Regions from separate parts of the Homo sapiens genome. Here region 1 is linked to region 2. The links are contacts of gene promoters, found by promoter capture Hi-C in human tissues and cell types (Jung and others, 2019). All regions are on one chromosome and are shown on one strand. The core of a region is centred on a gene start or on the middle of the fragment in contact, and the rest is flanking DNA. Distances in the headings are between cores, read along the strand shown. Region 1 has its middle 70 kb from the start of MIR760. Region 2 holds the start of FNBP1L (formin binding protein 1 like).

Evidence for each region. The method cuts DNA at HindIII sites, captures the fragments that hold promoters and counts their contacts. A contact is called where the count stands out against the background at its distance.
Region 1: a contact is called between a fragment that was not itself captured here and the fragment with the promoter of FNBP1L in region 2, in 1 of the 25 tissues and cell types used here (H1 embryonic stem cells).

What each region holds. Positions count from the first base shown.
Region 1 is chr1:93,774,495-93,780,011 of GRCh38, reverse strand. It overlaps a transcript of BCAR3 not described here. Among named protein-coding and RNA genes, the nearest start is that of MIR760, 70 kb to the left of the region's middle. The HindIII fragment of the contact is 3,593 bases long and covers 1-3,558 here.
Region 2 is chr1:93,444,822-93,450,695 of GRCh38, reverse strand. FNBP1L (formin binding protein 1 like) reads right to left here and starts at 2,578. Exons shown (of 17, transcript NM_001164473.3): 1 at 2,391-2,578. The coding sequence starts at 2,414. RefSeq lists silencers at 2,421-2,470, 3,410-3,704 and an enhancer at 1,951-2,929. The HindIII fragment of the contact is 21,665 bases long and covers 1-5,874 here.

The DNA.
Region 1 (5,517 bases), core at 513-3,012, 330 kb before region 2:
GTTGGAAACAATGTGGGTTTGAGGATGAGAAGACATGTCCTGAGGGGTTTACCTTTTGGGTGGAGGCCAAGGGCAACAGGAACCGGAGTCACCTAGGATTAGCTGGTCCCAAATTGTAAATGAAGCACTGGGGTCATGTTGTTCACATCCTGGGATTGGGGGAGGAGGGAAGAGGTGGGCATGAGAGGCCCTGCTGGGCTGGAGGTGGGTATTGCAGCTGCCACATACCATTCCCTTGCTGCAAAATCCTTTAGCAGAATGTCTGCTATCCAGGAGTACGTGCATTGTTAAGTTTGTTCTCATTTCCTGAACAACTTACGCACTAAGCAATTACTTAAAGCGCTGAAGGAAGAGGCTCAGGTTTCTAATGACATTCTGTCAACATGACTAATGCTACCCTGGAACACCCTTCCCCTAGGTATCTGCATGGCTCACTTTCTTTTTCAACCAAGTTTCCCTCAAAGAGGGGTCTTCTCTGATCCCAATACCCAAATAGCCCTACTCATCACTCACTATCCTCTTGCCATGCTTTATTTTTCTTCATTTTACTTATGTCCACCGACTCATCCTTATTTGTTTATTAGTTGGTACCTGTCATTCTCACTAGAATGTAAGCCACATGAGGTTAGGAGTTTCCTTTTGTTCTCTACCCTATTCTCCACTGCTGAAAATAGTGCCTGGCATACAACACAGCTCAATAAACAGCTGTGGGCAAATGAATGAATGAATGACTTGGCCCTGGCCAAGTCATTGGACCTCAGGAATGGCATCTTTCAATTAGAAGTTGTTGCTACTCTAACGATTTTGTTAATCATTAGGTGGCCTATCTTCACCATGCTTCCTATACAAAAGTGAATTGCCTAAAACTCAGCATCGGCGCTTCTCCCTCAAAGTTTTAGACAATAAACTCTGACTGTTTGAAACTCAGCTGTTTGCCTTCACCACTCCTCCTCCCATCTTGCCTCCTCCCATCCTCCTCAACTGCTTTTTCTGATGTTGGCCAAGATATCAGAACCTGAGATTAGTATCAGAAAATTGAGCTCCTACCATGACCCCACACCAAAGCTTGAGGCTTTCAATAACAAAGACAGACACCCTCCTTTCTCCAAGAGCCTATATATTGTGAGGGAATTGATAATTAAATATGTGATTGTATAATGGTTTAATGAGAACCACAACAGGGGAGGTGCTACCTTCAGAAAGGCTTCCCTCGAGAAATGATACCTGAGTATTAAACTGCAGGATGAGTAGGATTCAGCTGAGCAAAGAAGGGTTGGAGAAAAGTAGACAGCAGGGAAAATCCCTGATCCTAGAGAAGTGGGTCTTGTTGGAGGAGCCAGAACTGGCAGGTGGCTGGGAACCCAGTAGGAGGTGTGAGTAGTGGGTAAAACCAGGGCTGCAACAAGCGTTAGAAACAGATTATCCTAAGGCAAAAATAACTCCCTTTCACTGCTGCTGCTGGTTTGGTTGGCAAAAGGAAAAAAAAAAGGACTCCATGATTTTAGTAATCAGATTGCTGGTAATAATATTGGTATTATTATTCTGATACTATTCACTATATATATAATAGGATAGAGCAAATAAGTAATTAGGCTAATGTTGATAGAAACCAAGATTCTTCACCATAAGAGATGCAAATATAAAATTTTTAAAATTGTAAAAATTCTGTAATTTTAAATTTGAATAAAATATATTAGTGTAAACTAATGATACATTTTCTTATCTTAAATCTGTTTCCTATCTCTGACCACTATTAAGGCCTAGAAACAATGACCAGTCAAATGCAGTCCATGCCCCTAGTACCGGTTTGTAGTCTCTAAATTATGCTTCCCACCAAATGGAACCAGGGTTTATTTCAGAAATGGATGGTCCAGAGGAGGAATTGCATATGATGAAGCTTAAACACCATGATATACCAGATAGTGAGGGAAGTGTCAGAGATCCCTGGGGTCATGTCAACAGGACTCAGAAGTCAACTTGTCAAGGCTCTCACTGGCCACAAATGGGACAATGTTAATATGAATAAGAATAACTAAAAAGGACTGAAATCCACATGAATTCTGTTGGAAATTCACAAGTTTATAATGATGTTCAAAAAAGAAAAATAAAGACCATTGTTCACCTTTGGATAATACTGGGGAACCAACTCATTATTCTGAAAACAGGAAAGCAAAGCAAAGGAATCTACATTTGCCATATAAATTGAACCTCAGGGTAACCAAATAGTGGAGAAGGGAATGTTTCTTTCTATAGGAGTATTCCAGCCAATAATTTAGAAGAAATATTGGGCCAGGTGTGGTGGCTCATGCCTGTAATCCCAGCACTCTGAGAGGCCAAGGCAGGAGGATTGTTTGAGCCCAGGAGTTTGCCACCAGCCTGGGCAACCTAGCGAGACCCCCATCTCTACAAAAAAAAATTTTAAATTAGCCAGGCACAGTGGTGCATGCCCGTGGAGGAGGAGGAGGAGGAAGAGGAGAAGGAAAGAAGAAGAGGAAGAGGTGGAGGAGGAGGAGGTGGAGGAAGAGGAAGGAGGAGGAGGAAGAAGAGGAGGAGGAAGAGGAGGAGGAGGAAGAGGAGGAGGAGGAAGAGGAGGAGGAAGAGGAGGAGGAAGAGGAAGAAGAGGAAGAAGAAGAGGAGGAAGAAGAAGAAGAGGAGGAAGAAGAAAGCAGAAGAAATATTATTTGCAAGCTCTTAAATAAATAATAATTCTGGGTATCAATAATTGTATTAGTTTCCTATGGCTGCCATAACAATGTACCACAAACCAGGTGGCTTAAAACAACAGAAATTTATTGTCTCGCAGCTCTGGAGGCTGAAATCAGAAATCAAAATACTGACAGGGCTGTGTTCCTCTGAAGCCTCTAGAAAAGAATTCTTCCTTTTGTTTGCCAGCAAGCAATCCTCAGCATTCCTCTGCTTGTAGAACCATCACTCCCTTCTCTGCCTCCATGGTCACATGGCTGTCTTCTCCCTGTGTCTATCTGTGTTCAAATTGTCCTCTTATAAGGACTGAATCAAGGCCCACCCTAATCCAGTATGACCTCATTTTAACCTGATTCCATCTGTAAGAACCCTGTTTCCAAATGAGGTCACGATCACAGGCACAGCGTTGGTGGGTAAATGTTCAACATATCCTTTTGGGGAACATAGTTCAACCCGTAATAATCATCAAGGGCAGCCTAGATCACAAATAGGAAGACATAAGACTTTATTTTCTGGCAGAGCATACCACCTATTGGCAAAGAATTAGACATAAATCAGAGTAAGTCTAGATCTACCTACCAATTTACAGGAAGTAGAGAGTACAAAAAGGCATGTTAAAAAATACCACAGGCAGTAGAATCAGCAAGATCCAGAATGTGGGAAACTCTACAGGACTAATAACTTGGTTTCTTCAACAAATAAATTGCAAGGAAATTCCAGGAGAGAGCTCTGTAAATTATAATAAAATGGACATAATAGACGTAACAACCAAATACAATATATAGATTTTGTTTGAAAATTTGAATACTTACTAGATATTTAATAAAATAATGGCTTATCGACAGTTTAAAAAACTTAATTATATTGTGGTAATGTTTACAAAGGGGAGAGTCTTTAACTTACAGTAGTACATTTCCGCAGATAAAATGGCATGTTTGGGGGTGGGAAGACAGTAGGGCGTGGGTTGGCTATGAAACAAAGTTAGCCAAGTTAATTAATGAAACTTGGTGGTGGGGACATGGGGGTTCATTATATTATTATCTCTGCTTCATATGCGGACATTTTCTATCCTATAAAATTAGAAAGAATTAACATGCAGTATGTTTAGTTAATGCTTCTCAGCTTGGGAAGTATCAGAACCTACCAGATACTGCTGAGGATACCTCCCTCCCTCAGCCTCATTGAGATCTTCTATTCTAGATACTTTCCTAGGAAATTGAGTTTCTCTTTTCAAACTTATTCACTGCAGCTTGATTGCTGATGGAAACCTTTTGTTTGCTGGAAGCTACTGGCTAGCTGACGAGAATACTTTTCATTAGGCAAGAAAGGAATTTTTCAAAACCCCTTTTATTATAAAAGTCCTAGGTACATACAGAGTCAAAAAGAAAATTCAAAAAGTGCAGAAAAATTAAGATCACTCCTCCCCAGTTCTACTTCCTGGAGTCTTCACTGCTTCAAGTTTCTTGTGAATTGCTCCAGACATTTTTCTAAGCATATACAAAAATAAGCATGATTTGGACCTTTCTGTAAGCCTAAGTATGTTTGCAACTTCGCTTTTTTTCCACCCAGCAATATATCTTAGAGACATTTTCATAGCAGCAAATACACATCCTCCTCTTTTTTATTCCATTATGTGGAAAATCGTATTTATTTCAAATTGGTCCCTGAATGGCAGGCACTTTTTTTCCAGTGATTTCCTCTTAGAGATAATGCTGCCATGCACCTTCTTGAACACATATAGAAAATGAATTTTTTAAAAAATATGCATCTCTTAAAAAAGCCCTTCCTTTCAGCTCAGGACAGGAAGTGCCCTATGATATGAAGCAAGCACACAACAAACCTCCTGGACCTGTCCGCATCACACTGTGACTCACCAGCCGCGCGCGTGCTGGGCAGGTAGAGGCTGGAGCGGTCAGGAGCATGCCTGGCTCCTGGTGCCTCTCTATGGAGAGCACCTCTGTGCCTCTCTGAGAGCACTCACAGCCAAAAGTACACAGCTGCCCCCAGGCTGAGAGTGCTTGATACACCCTTGAATCCCCTCTTATATGATGCCCCAGCCCAGGAGAGATAAAAGCATCAGCACCATGAGATTCACCTGCCTCTGGTCGTTAGGTAAGTTCACAGGCACTAGCGTTGAAAGATTCTAGGACTGAGGGATGTTAAACTCAATTAAATTTACCTGGACGCAGCAATTGCTTAGCTGGTGGTGTGTCCAAGTTAAGAAACTAAAATGCTAATGTGTAGCACCAGTGCCTCTGATGGCTTAGTGGCTTCTCTGAAAGTGGGTAACCAGAGTAAGATTTTATTTTAGCTTACTTTTTAGCTTACTCTATTTTGTTTAAAAATGTGGTTTGTGTTTAATCCTCTGGAAGTCCTCTGTGTCAGCATGGCTTTTCTTTCCTGCTGTGTGGGACTTTATACAAGACATCTCTTGCCAGATTTTGGAATTCCCTGGCAAGGAAGAGAGGCAATTTGAGTAACCTGGCCACAGACAAATACATTTCACTTCAGCAAAGCTTTTCAGATGTCATTGAAGATGTGTGAGAAACCAGATAGAAAGCTATAGAAAATGCTCTTTGAAAAAGTATTCCCTCATTGACTGCTTAGTGAAGCTCTTGCCATACGATCTCCTGAATGGGATAGATAACTTCAGGTCGTTGCTTTGCCAAGGAGAGGTTTGTTAGACCATAGGGACAGGGCTTGGGTGATGGTCAACTGTCTCAGTACAGGCTATGTGGGGCCTCCTTTACAGCTTCAACAATAAGTATCAAGGCTAGGGTCAAAATGTACATAGTTTGGTTTGCTTGTCTTTTT
Region 2 (5,874 bases), core at 1,329-3,828:
GGTTTCTAAATCCAAAATTTCGAGAGAATTTCCCAACCTCAAATTCCTCAATGGCAAGAGCACAGTACAGGTTGTTTGTATTACATTACAATCCATTAGAAGTATAATCCTTTTTCAAAACTGAGAACAGTAAAAAGAGGAAGCATACTCAAATTTTTCTAAGGTTTCTTCTAGTCCCAACAATAGTCCTCTACACCAAGTTCTGCTTATCTAAGTTTCAGACACCAAGTTGATATTAGTTCACTCTACATTACTTAGTTTCTAATAAATGTTTCCCTCAAATCCTCAAACTAAAAATCTTAAAATATGGAGATGTATTAAATGTTGAGAAAAATTAAAAATCTTTTTCAGAATTTCCAAAGGACACAAAGCAAATTTTAGTTAGAACAAAAATTCCCATCTCTTCTACAGTTTATCTTTTCAGATTGCTGAGAAACTCTTTAAATGCTGAAAGTAACCAAATTATAGGAGACAGTAGAGGAATGGAATCGTTTCCTTAGGTAGTACCATAAGTTTAAAAAAAAAACTTTTAAAATCACATTTTATTATTCACTAAAATGTTTTTCCTTAAAACTGTTATTCTTTAGTGTGATACAAAGTGAATTTTTTAAAAATCTTAAGAGTTAAATCTAAATAACATGCCTCCACTGTTTTCCTATGTTTACTTTTTAGAAGTATTCTACTTACATTTTAGTTTCCTTTGAAGCACAAGTCATTTAAGTAGGCAAAAGTTAAAATATTTTGTAATTATAAAAACGAATGAATGCACTCTGGTAGGCATGAAAAAAATAAAAAATTTAAAAATTTAAAATAAAACTATACCCATTTCCTTTCATTGATAATTCACTATAATCAATTATAGAATGCACAAAGTGTAAGGGAAAAAGGCCAATAATGCCTGAGAAACTAACCAATGTAAAAGAATTAAACTTTATGTAATTCATTTACCATGCAATCCTCCCCAATATAAGAACAATTAATGCTATCTAAGAAACGGAATGAAGGGGCTCCTAAGGTATTTTCTCTTGGGTGGTGTGTTTTCAGACTGGGTAAGCACTTGTACAGAATGTTGCACAAGAGATTCCTGGCTGGCTAAGTAAAGCATTCACTAGATGGACTCTAAAGTCTCACAGTTCTAAGATTCCCAATCTATGAGTAGACGTGAAAAATAAGAAAACATTTTGCCTTTCAATTAACCCATTGGCTTTCACTCCCACCCTAGCTGGGCACACACATACTCAAAAGTTATTTCTCCCCTTTCTCTGCAGTGATTTCACGAGATCCTCGCGAACAAAAGGCACGGAAAACAGGCACAGGTGGAATAAAAAGGGGAGTGGCTGAGGCCAGGCGGCTCTCGGGACAGCGCCCCCACGCCCCCAGTTCTCCCGGCCGCACCTGAGAAATCACTGCCCTCCGCACCTGAGAAATCACTGCCCTCCACACCTCGACCCTTCCGCGCCGGCGCCAGGAGCAAATTCTCCGACCTATTACCCTCCGCCCGTACCTTGGCCAGACACTGGGCATTGTCTGGAGCCTCCTGTGCCAAAGAAAGGCAAGGAGGAAAGGAAAGGAGAGAACGAAGGAGAAAGAACAAGTGAGAATAAAGAACGGAAAGGGAAGTAAAGCAACAGGGAGACCGTACGCTCCTTTTGGTAAAATTAGCTTCCTCATCGATCACTCGATTTAATTCAGCCCCCAAAACCAACCCACCAGCCCAAAGGCTGCAGCCGGGGGTGGCCAAACCGGAGTCCCTCGAAGCTGTGCCCGCCCGAAGCACTGAGGCAGGGAGAGAGAAATGTGCGTGTGGGCTGGGCCTGGCTGGCCCGAGGCCGGGCTCCGAACAAAGCCGCCTGGGTCCCCATACCTGGGGCGAGGGCTCTGGGCGGCGCCGCCCCAGACGGGCGACGCCCTAGCCCCGCGGACCTGGCCCGGGCGAGGAATCGCGGCCGGTCCCCTCCCCGCCCTCGAACAGCGCCCCTTGGGGACAATGGGCCCCCTCCCCCGCCTCCGGGAGGAGAGATACAAAGGAAGAGAGGAGCCGCCGGGCGCGAAGCCAGGCGTCGGGAAAAGTGAAGGTGGAGGAGGGAGAAGGAACAAGAGGGGATCACGGCGCACGCAGGAGCCCGCGGGCTGCTCCCCCGGCCGTCCCGGGCGCCGCCCGAGCTGCACCACGGCGGCAAAGGCGGGAGCACGGACTAGCGGCCCCCTAGACCCCCGGCCGAGAAGGGAAGAGGAGTCTGCACACAAAGACGAGCGGGACCCTCACCCTCCGCCAGCGCCGGACCGAGGACGGCGGAGCGCGCTTTCACCGCCGAGGGTCCGCGGCGCCCGCCCAACCCGCGCTTCTCAGGGGCCGGGGTCCGTGCGGGGCGCCCCTCTCCCCGACTCACCCACAGCTCCGTGCCCCAGCTCATGGCGGAACTTTCTGGCCGTCTGGCGGTGCCGCTGTCCTTCAGTCTGTCGGCTCCACAGTCTGTCCGACCTCTCACTCGCTGGCCGGCGGGCTAGCAGCTCAGCGGGTCTACCTCGAAAGGTGCCGCCACCGCCGGGCTCCCCAGTGAGTGAGAAAGACGCGACTGGAGAAGCCTCCGCCGCCGACGCGTCCCCGCCTCCCCGCGCTGGGCGGGAGGGGGCCGGGGCCGAGGGGAGGCGGAACGCGGCGCGGGGAGGGGGCGGGGCGCAGTGCATCCTGGGATCGGGGAGGACCTGGGCTAGCCTGGCCACCGCCGGCGGGGTCCCCAAGCGGGCACCTGGTCACCCTCGCTGGCCCCTCTCGCTGGTCGAGTCTCCTCCTGCAGGTACCCCGGAGCTTGGACTGCCCCCACTCCGCTGCCAGTCGGACCCCTGTTTCCAAGATAGAAAGGGAGAGAAGGGAAAAGACCCCCACCGCCGCTATTATCTCATTCCTCCTCTGCGCTGAGCCCCTTTACATGAGGCAATTTTAGTTACCTGCCTTTCCTGCCTCTTGTCTCCTCCACTCGGGAGAAACCTTGACAGGGAAGCGTCATCCAAATCCTAGAGTTTAGACTGAGGAGAGTTGTGTTTTATTTTTTTAAATCTTGATGCTTAAGGTGATCTCTCCTTTCAAGCCTGATGCTTTGGCATGACGATTCTTGGGAACCACCAAAATGTGCACAGGTTGAACAGCAAATGTGAAGGCAACATGTCCCCGATTCTGTCTTTAATTAAATATTTTAATTTTATAAATTCTGTCAGGAAATTATAAAAAGAGGCAGCTCTTCCAGTAATCATTTAGGTATGTTGCCAGCGCACGAGATGGAAGACGTGGACAAATGTGAGCCGAGCTGTCACCTGCGGAAGATGAGAAGGCAGCTTGCCCCATGTCTGGAATGGGCACCTCGTGGGTGAGGGTTGGATGGGAGCCAGATTTTTCTCTGGTAGTGTAAACAGCTTATTCGGAACTTCAGATCTCTTTCACCTCCCAGTATCGGAACCTTGGAGGCAGGTCCACTACTTCCTTTTTTCTCTATGGAGCTACTTCCTGGCCTATCTCCATGGAAAGGCTGTTAGCTAGTTTGGCTGGTGCTACTAGATATCAAGTACGCTGAGCAACTCCCTAACATATGCTTTAGTATTAATAGCTTGTCTCCTAAAGCAAGCAAGCGCACACACACACACTTCAAAACAGTCAACTAGTAGAGTACTCCTCAGTGCGTCATGACAGCTGGGTGTTTTAGGAAGCTCTCCCAACGGGTTCTTTGTCAGCATTGAAACTCCTCCCCTACCTGGCCTGGACAGGTGTTCCAACCTCTTCCGCTTAATCCGTATTCTTTTGCCTAGCTGCGCTCCCTCTTGGAGTTGAGGCCAACAGCCTGAGTTCGCCTGACAGTCCAGTTGCTAATCTTCCTAAATTCTCTGCTGTCCTTTTCTGAGGCCACTTTAAGCATACAAATGCCCTCTTCCAAGTGGGTTATAGCCAATTTTTAAATGCTTAACTTTGTACCATGCAGTGAAAAGCCTGTGAAGGATTGAACAACACTTTCTAACATTTTTCTACATTGCCTCTATTCCAAAATAATTTCTTCGTTTATTTATGTCACCTAACACTGTTAACCGCCTCTCCCATCACTTCCTATCACTCCCTAGAATCATGAATGTATTTTGCAATTGCAAGTAACATTAATTAGTAAGGGGAAATGGATTTTTTTTTTTTTGAGACGGCGTTTCACTCTTGTCACCCAGCCTGGAGTGCAGTGGCGCGATCTCGGCTCACTGCAACCTCCACCCCCCAGGTTCAAGCAATTCTCCTGCCTCAACCTCCCGAGTAGCTAGGATTACAGGCGCCTGCCACCACGCCCAGCTAAATTTTGTGTTTTTAGTGGAGATAGGTTTTCACCATGTTGGCCGGTCTGGTCTCGAACTCCTGATCTCAAGTGATCTGCCCCCCTCAGCCTCTCAAAGTGCTGGGATTATAGGCGTGAGCCACTGCGCCCAGCTGGGAAATGGATTTATTAAATGGGTGTCATTATTTAGCACCACAGCAATACCAAGATTTATTATATCTAAGTATTGTCATAAAAGCTAAGACCTATAGAATATAATTTAAACCCAAGTTAAAGGATTTATCTTTTTTTTTTTTTTTTTTTTTTTTTTTTCTGAAACAGAGTCTTGCTTTGTTGCCCAGCAGTGCAGTATTGCCATCTGGGCTCACTGCAACCTTCACCTTTCCAGCTCAAGCAATTCACCTGCCTTAGCCTCCCAAGTAGCTGGGAGTACAGGTGCTCACCACCACACCTGGCTAATTTTTTGGATTTTTTTGTAAAGATGGGGTTTTGCCATTGGTGCCCAGGCTGGTCTTGAACCCCTGGGCTCAAGAGATCCAACCCCCTCAGCCTCCCAAAGTTTTGGGATTACAGGCCGTGAGCCACCACGCCCAGTGAGGATTTCCCTTTAAAGTAAAATAATCTACTGTTCACATTAAAATTTTCAACCGTGCTGTTTATGTAATTTCCCAAATGAACATAAAGCTCACCTCCTACATGAAGACTTTTTCTTCTTCCAAGGTTCTGAAGCAGGATTCCACAATTAAAACAATTCATTTCTCTTCAAAAAGCTAGATTTGGGGGCATCAAGGGTTTTCTTATTTGTTTTTGTTTTGAGACAAGGTCTCCTAATGTCCTGGAGACGTTAGGAGTGGCTGGAGTGCAGTGGCACCATCATAGCTCACTGCAGCCTTGACCTCCCAGACTCAAGTGATCCTCCCACCTCAGCCTCCTGAGTAGCTAGGACCACAGGCACACAACCACACCTGGCTAATTTTATTTATGTATTTATTTTTATTTATTTATTTATTTTTGTAGAGACAGAGGTCTCACAATGTTGCCCAGGTTGGTCTCAAATTCCTGGACTCAAGTGATCCTCCTACCTCAGCCTCCCAAAGTGATGGGATTACAGGAGTGAGCCACTGCACCCAGCCCTGCATCAAGTTGTAATATTCAAATTTAAATAAAATTTCTGTTACCCTCCATTACTATAAAATTTTTAATATAATTCATATTACCACCTTAAATAATCTCTTCTAAAGAATTATTTGTAATTTATAAAATTCTTTCATGACATTAAAAGTCACTGGTTCAACGATGTTTAAGCAAAAACAATTAAAAAGTGAAAACTTTCACAATAAAGAAATAAATGTTTAGTGTTATACTTTGTTAAAAAAATAATAAAGATTAATCAGATTTCAAAGTATTTCCTATTAGAACAAATCCTCTCTAAAATAGCATATAGGCATTTTAGCCAACAAACATGCAGATATTTTACATACACATAGTCACATACACAAATGTATATTATCAGTATGGCAGTTTATAAGACATTTATGATTTTTCACATAATCAAAATCATTTTGGCATT